2 separate regions of the Homo sapiens genome follow, and region 1 is linked to region 2. The links are contacts of gene promoters, found by promoter capture Hi-C in blood cells and fetal thymus (Javierre and others, 2016). All regions are on one chromosome and are shown on one strand. The core of a region is centred on a gene start or on the middle of the fragment in contact, and the rest is flanking DNA. Distances in the headings are between cores, read along the strand shown.

Region 1 (3,204 bases), core at 347-2,846, 270 kb after region 2:
TCTCTTCCCTCTGTTAGGTTACAAATACAGTTTGCATAATTTTCCACCTAAAAAAAACACATTTTCTTACTTTTAGTCCATGGCTCATATTTTAATCCATATTAAAGGTCCGGGAAGTGAAAGAGCAATTAAGAGATCACCATTCTATCATGACTATAATCTGAGAAATCAACAGAAAACTCAGCTTTCCTCAAGTGTTGGCATCTGGCTCTAAACTCCCTTCCAGCTGTCTTACATTATCATACACTATGTTTCCCATAGGTATGATGACATGTAACCACAAATTTCTGGGACAGTCCCAATCTCTAATATTTTTTTCTATCAACATACCAGGTTTTAAATCAAGTTTCCCTCTCTGTGGTTTAGGAAATATGGTCATGATATCCATGAACAGAAAAAAATCTACATAATAATTAGGTTTATACTGCTATGCTGAAACTGATGGCTAAGATGATTAAATGTTAACAGGAGATTACATTAAAAATTGTTGTGTATTCTTTGAAAAGCTTGCAGTTAATATAACGGCTTCACAAAAAGCTACTTTTATGTGCATAATAACAGGTAGAAAGCGAATATGCTCCAGGCACTATATTAAGTACATCAAATATTTAATTGTCTCCACAACCACATGGGACTATTATTCTCCCACTTTGGAGGTGAAGAAGCAGGCTTAGAGAGGCTAAGAGACTTGCCTTGTCACATAGGGAATAAGGGGAGGAGCTAGAATTCATACTCTGATGGGTAGAAACCAGAGACTGAGTTCTTAGTACGCCAAAGTGCTTAGAAGTAGACTACCGAAATAACTGAATTGCATTTTGGTGAATTCTTTGGAAGCCTATAGGAAAACTCCTTAAAATATGTACAGAAAGATGAATAGTATAGAAGGAACATAGGAATCACAGTTCAACTTTATCACTTCCTGGCAAACTTTCGTTTCCTCTTTAAAATGGCAGGAACAATATCCATTTCTAATGATAATAGCTATCATTTATTGAACACTTGCTAGGTGCCAAGTACATGGGTAATTTATACACACTAACCTGTATAAATCTCACAAATCCCTTTGAAGATGCTATTAACATCTCTATCTTACAGACAGAAATTTCAAGCTCAAAGCAGTTGAGTAACTTGCCCAGAGTTAAACAGAAAGATAATGCTAAAGGCAACTTTTCACCCCCATCTGCCTAATGTTAAAGTTCACACTCTATGATGCTATACTGCTTTTCATTCTAAAGGAGCTGCATTCTTCTTTAGAATTTGGAGATTGGATTGTCCTTTAAGAATTAAATTTAAAAATGTTACCTGTGTGAAGCTGAGATGTGAAAACATAGCAGAGTGATTCCCAGGCAACCTGAGATAATTCATTAGTTCATTTAAAGAAAGTATGTTGATGAGTATTGGAAACATCCAAGAGAGTAACAATAGGGCCAAAAAAAAAATAGCTTTATCTACTCCTCTAAGCACTAGGTGCCTGGTCCTAGGATATGAGGTCCAGAAACGAGGGTAGATATAGATAGCCCTATTGTGGAAACCTGGCTATCTCAGCCAATGCTATAAAAAGTTAGAATCATTTGTTCACCAAGTAAACATCTAATTAAAAGTTGGCTTCCCACATAATGTGCCTGTAAGAGAATACATCAGCCACCAAAAATACATGTTTAGTTCCTCTGGCAATTATATTTCTTATTGTCAATTAAAAAGGAGGTGTCTCATCTCTATGACTTTGGTTAATACAAGCCCACCTTTGAGAAGCAGATCCACTGATACTATGCCGACATTAGTTTCCAAGCCTTCAAAAAAAAGAGTCACCTAGAAGGTCAGCTCCTGAGAGAAGGATGACTTTACCAAGATAATGAAAGCTACCTGGAGCAGTCCTGTTTAGATGTTCAGCCAGTCATCACTGGGCAACATCCTATACATGGAGTCTTAATGGAAACCAACACAGACTGTTGCCATGTTTCATTAGAAAAAAAAAAAGGTCTACACGTGGGTGCTTTTCAAACTATACAGTGATAGCCAAACATTAGTTTTTAATATGTCAATTTAATGAAGGGCAATGAACAAAATCACAGGTGTCTTTAAAATTCTATGCTATTAGTTCTCACTTCTTTTGTTTCACCCATGTGCTTCACTATAAGCTCTTCTACATCTGTGGTAGCAGTCCTCAGCCTGTCTTCACTGTGCTGGCTGGAATAAGCACCAAACAGAGTTGTTCTTCTGTAGTAGCAAGGGGATTGATTTCTTCTTTTTCAAGATGGTGAAGTATGTCTTCTAACTGAACTTTTCCCTTGATAGAAGAAATAAGCATATGTATATGAACACACACACACACACAACTGAGGATGCAAGATATCTATGTGGGTGCCACCTTAGTCTCCTTATTAGAGTACTAGTCTTTAGGGTACTAGCAATAGAAAGCTAGTAAGCTACCTGAACCTTCATCACACTTATGTATGTGTATGTATATATATCTTGGAAAATCCAAGATATTTCTAAAGAACAAAATATAGCTGGCAATACACATACAAAGCTGCTATGTGAGGAAAACTGAAAGCAGGAATAAAGAAGTCTATGTATATATGACTAGAGTCAGACTCTCTACAATGTATATTTTACTTTTCCTGTTGTTATCTAGTTATGAGCACTTAAATGAAACAGCTGGTAATACCGAAAAATGTAAGCTTTGAACAACTGTGTATCTTCTAAAATAACAAATGACATGATATACTTAATGAAAATTATGTACAATGGAAAAAAAAAAAGCTTTTCTGTCTGTTCTAAAGTTTGCAACTTTTATCTGAAAAGTCTCCCAAAGGGCTCTTGTTTCTTTTTTAAAGTCCAAAGAAGTCTTTGTTCCTTTTATTGCATATTTAGAAATAAAAGGATTCCTCTGGAAGCTAGAGAGGCCCCTAATTCTATACTATCCAGGATTTATTTTACTCACAGAATATGTCTTATAATTTATGTTGACTTCTCATTAATTCAGTTCTTTTCTGCAACTTCTTGGTCTAAGCCTGCTATCAATATCAATTTTTTTAGGTTGCAAGTAATCATGACATAACAGTTTGCAGTATGACAGTATATGAAAGATAAATATCTGCTGATCGATGAAGTGATATCTGTGTTACTAGAGCCACTAACTATTTTTTTTTCTTTGAGATGGAGTCTACCTCTGTTGCCCAGGCTGGAGTGCAGTGGTGTGAT
Region 2 (3,413 bases), core at 282-2,781:
GGCTCCCCTCAATCCTACTGTCTTGTCATTGTGGTAGAAGAATCTGAGCTCAGGACTTACTTCTCTGCCACTGTCCTAGACCCCATTTGGTCTTGGGACCCACAGGTCGTCCAGGAAGCAGGTCTGTGTGTGCTCGGATCCACGTGGCTCTGACCCTCCCAGCACAGAGAGCCTGAGGGTCCCAGTGTGCACCACCACAGGTCAAGCAGTGCCCACCCTTGACCCTCAGATGGCAGACCACTCCCCCATCTCTGGCCAGAGCTGCAGGCCATACCAGAGGCCTACGCCCTGGGCGGGCACACAGGGCTGCCATTGTCTGCTCAGCGCCTGGCACCCTCTCGTTTGCATAGCCACGTGAAGAATGCAAGAGCGGGCTGGGGACTTGTCCCTTCAGAGGGGGGTTGGGGCTGTGGGGGAGGAAGCCAGCAGGGGTCTGCAGCAGGACCCTGCCTTCCCCCAGTGCAGTCCAGGAAGGGTGGGTGGGCTGTTGGGGACGGAGGGGGCGGCGGGGGGCTGGCAGGAGTGGAAGCAGGGTTGTGACATTCCTTCTGCACCCACGCTGCAGTGGGGCCCACTTGAACGTGAGGGGATTGCTAATGAGGTGGAAGAGAGTTAAACATTCCCCTACTCCTGAAGACCAAGAGAGACTGGGAGAGAGAAGAGGGAGGTGGGGGTGCTCGGAGCGGGCAGCCTGAACCCCGGGAATGTGCAGAGGCCACTGCTCCGCGCCAGGCTGCTCTAGAGTTGGGGGCCAGGGCCCAGTGTTCCAGTCCCAGCAGGAGCTACTAAGCCAGCCAGCAAGGGGATTAAGGGGCTGAGCAATCCGCCTTCCTTCAGGCTGATGCCAGAAGGTTGGGGCTGTCTCCCCAGCTCCCCACCAGGCCCCTTGCTGGCCGGCAGCCAGCGCTGGCCCAGCCTCGATAGGGCCCCTTTTCTGTCCCCCTCAGATCTCAAAAAGACCCCACAGTACATATTTCCTGGTCTGGCCTCCCTGATTTTTGGCACACACAGCTCCCAGGTACCCATGACCCCTCTTCCCAACACCCCACCGCTAGCTCAGCCTCCCCACATCCAGCTTCAGAGCCCCTGCCAAAAAGTTATCCTTGACATCTAACTCTAGTTTTACCCGCTGCAAACTGGCATTCCTTTCCCTTCTGTCCTAAAGTCAAAGGGCAGAAAACCCCAAGGGTTAGATCAGCCTTGCAAGAGCAAAGTCCATCCTCCCAGGGCTGGTGTTTGGGTTAGGGATTATCCGAATTTTAGGACACCCGAATCAGGTTCCTAAAGGGGTTTCCCTGTGGGGAAAGGCCCAGAGGGCAGCTGGGTCATTCCTCTCAGCCCCTCCCTTCCCTATCCCTGCGGAACGGGGCGGGGCAGGGACACCACCTGGGCCATGGGCCGGCCCTCCGCCCCCAGGGGGCTGGGCATGAGCTTTGCTGGGGACCCTGCTCTGGCTTAGGCGGCTGCTGTGGGCGGGCCCTGGCCTTTTCCAGCCCCTGGGCCTCCCCCTGCATTCTGGAGTCCAGAGCCACTGCCTTTGCTCCAGCCGCTGCCGCCGCACCACCTCTCCTTCTCTGCCTCTGACCCTCCTTCTCGCTGCTCCCCCTGCCCAGCTGCTCCTCCCACCTGGCCATGACCAAAGCCCCTGCTGGCACCCTGGCCCAGCTCTGAGTCCTGGGACCCTCGGTCCTCTCTCCTGGGCCATGGCCAACTCAGGCCTCCAGCTCCTGGGCTACTTCTTGGCCCTGGGTGGCTGGGTGGGCATCATTGCTAGCACAGCCCTGCCACAGTGGAAGCAGTCTTCCTACGCAGGCGACGCCATCATCACTGCCGTGGGCCTCTATGAAGGGCTCTGGATGTCCTGCGCCTCCCAGAGCACTGGGCAAGTGCAGTGCAAGCTCTACGACTCGCTGCTCGCCCTGGACGGTAGGCCCCAGGCCGGCGGGGTGGGAGATGGGAGGTGGGAACAGCAGGGGAGTCTGGAGCAAGTTTTCCTCACAGTCTGCTATCTGCGCTGGGCTCCAACCTCCAGCCTCCGCTCTACAATTCCCCCACTACTGCCCTGTGCCCATTGACGGTCCAGGCCAGCCTGCTGCCCTGTGGGAGGGGAGGGCTCTAGGGTCTGGCGGCTGTGGGTCCAGATTCCTGCTCTGTCACTATAACTTTGAACTAGTCACCAAACCTCTTCCCATTGTGATGTTCTCATCTCTAAAGGGGAATACTAATACCTGTGGCACTCTGAAAGACTCAGTTAAGACCCTTCATCCACTTCTCCCCACAGTCAGTAGACAGACACACACTGTATGATGCACACCTGCTCCCTAGTCCTGCTCCCAGGCCTGTGTGCCAGCATATGGGTGCATGCACATGCATGCAAACACGCATGCACACGCACACACGTGCACATGCATGCACAGACAGGTGTGTCTGCATGCAGTCCCTCTCCTTCTGGGGTGTGGAGATGAGCCTGACAGGCACCGCCGAAGTTCTAACTCTGGGGTGGAGGTGATCCACCTGCAATCTGCCCAGGAGCCCCCAGGGACAATCTGCTCCCCATGGGAGCTGGGAGCAGAGCGGCCTTCAACCAGCCCCATTGTGCCAGTTCAGGCAGGTCAGTTCAGGCAGGTCATCTAGCCTCGCTGAGGGACCCAGGTCTCCTGAGCACCCCCCAGGGCCCAGGATGGACCCATGCACCCGTGAAGAGGCAAGCTTCCAGCTGCCATGGGCAGAGGGGAAAGTGACTGTTGTCTGAATGGCTGCTGGGGAGGGGTTGCTGCGGGGCTCAGGCTGAGTTGAGCTGGGCCTCAGATACCCCCAGCTCTTCCACCTACCAAACCTGAGGGGACCCTGGAGCTGCCCTCAGCTGCTTGGGAGGATGGGCCAAGCCCAAGAGGGAGTCCCCAGGCCAGAAAGCAACAGCAGAGTGAATCATACTACCGGAAAAGCCTGCAAGGGCGAGTGGAGAATGGCGTTGACAGTGAAGGGGACTCTCACCCCCACACCCTGTCCTCATGCCCGGGCTGTCACTCCTCACTATCCTGCACCTGCCAGAAGGTGGTCTGACCCCCCAGGCCAGCTCCTGCTCAAGCCCCTCTCAAGCTGGGCTCCTTCCACCGACCCCAGGCACCGACCCAACCCCCATCCCCGCCAGCCCGACTCAGTGTCATCCCGCCCACCCTAGGTCACATCCAATCAGCGCGGGCCCTGATGGTGGTGGCCGTGCTCCTGGGCTTCGTGGCCATGGTCCTCAGCGTAGTTGGCATGAAGTGTACGCGGGTGGGAGACAGCAACCCCATTGCCAAGGGCCGTGTTGCCATCGCCGGGGGAGCCCTCTTCATCCTGGCAGGTGAGTGCCCCTCACTCCTGCACAATCACAACCATGGCAGGCAGCCCCAGCCCCAGTGGCCTCGGGG

Evidence for each region. The method cuts DNA at HindIII sites, captures the fragments that hold promoters and counts their contacts. A CHiCAGO score of 5 or more calls a contact.
Region 1: a fragment that was not itself captured here is called in contact with the fragment with the promoter of CLDN19 in region 2 in 4 of 17 cell types (M1 macrophages, megakaryocytes, M0 macrophages and 1 more); the score reaches 6.5 in M1 macrophages.

What each region holds. Positions count from the first base shown.
Region 1 is chr1:42,472,205-42,475,408 of GRCh38, reverse strand. The region is part of intron 1 of CCDC30 (coiled-coil domain containing 30); the gene reads right to left. It also overlaps a transcript of PPCS not described here. Among named protein-coding and RNA genes, the nearest start is that of CCDC30, 11 kb to the right of the region's middle. The HindIII fragment of the contact is 2,175 bases long and covers 509-2,683 here.
Region 2 is chr1:42,738,354-42,741,766 of GRCh38, reverse strand. CLDN19 (claudin 19) reads left to right here and starts at 1,531. Exons shown (of 5, transcript NM_148960.3): 1 at 1,531-1,926; 2 at 3,182-3,346. The coding sequence starts at 1,704. RefSeq lists an enhancer at 1-174. The HindIII fragment of the contact is 4,341 bases long and covers 1-2,711 here.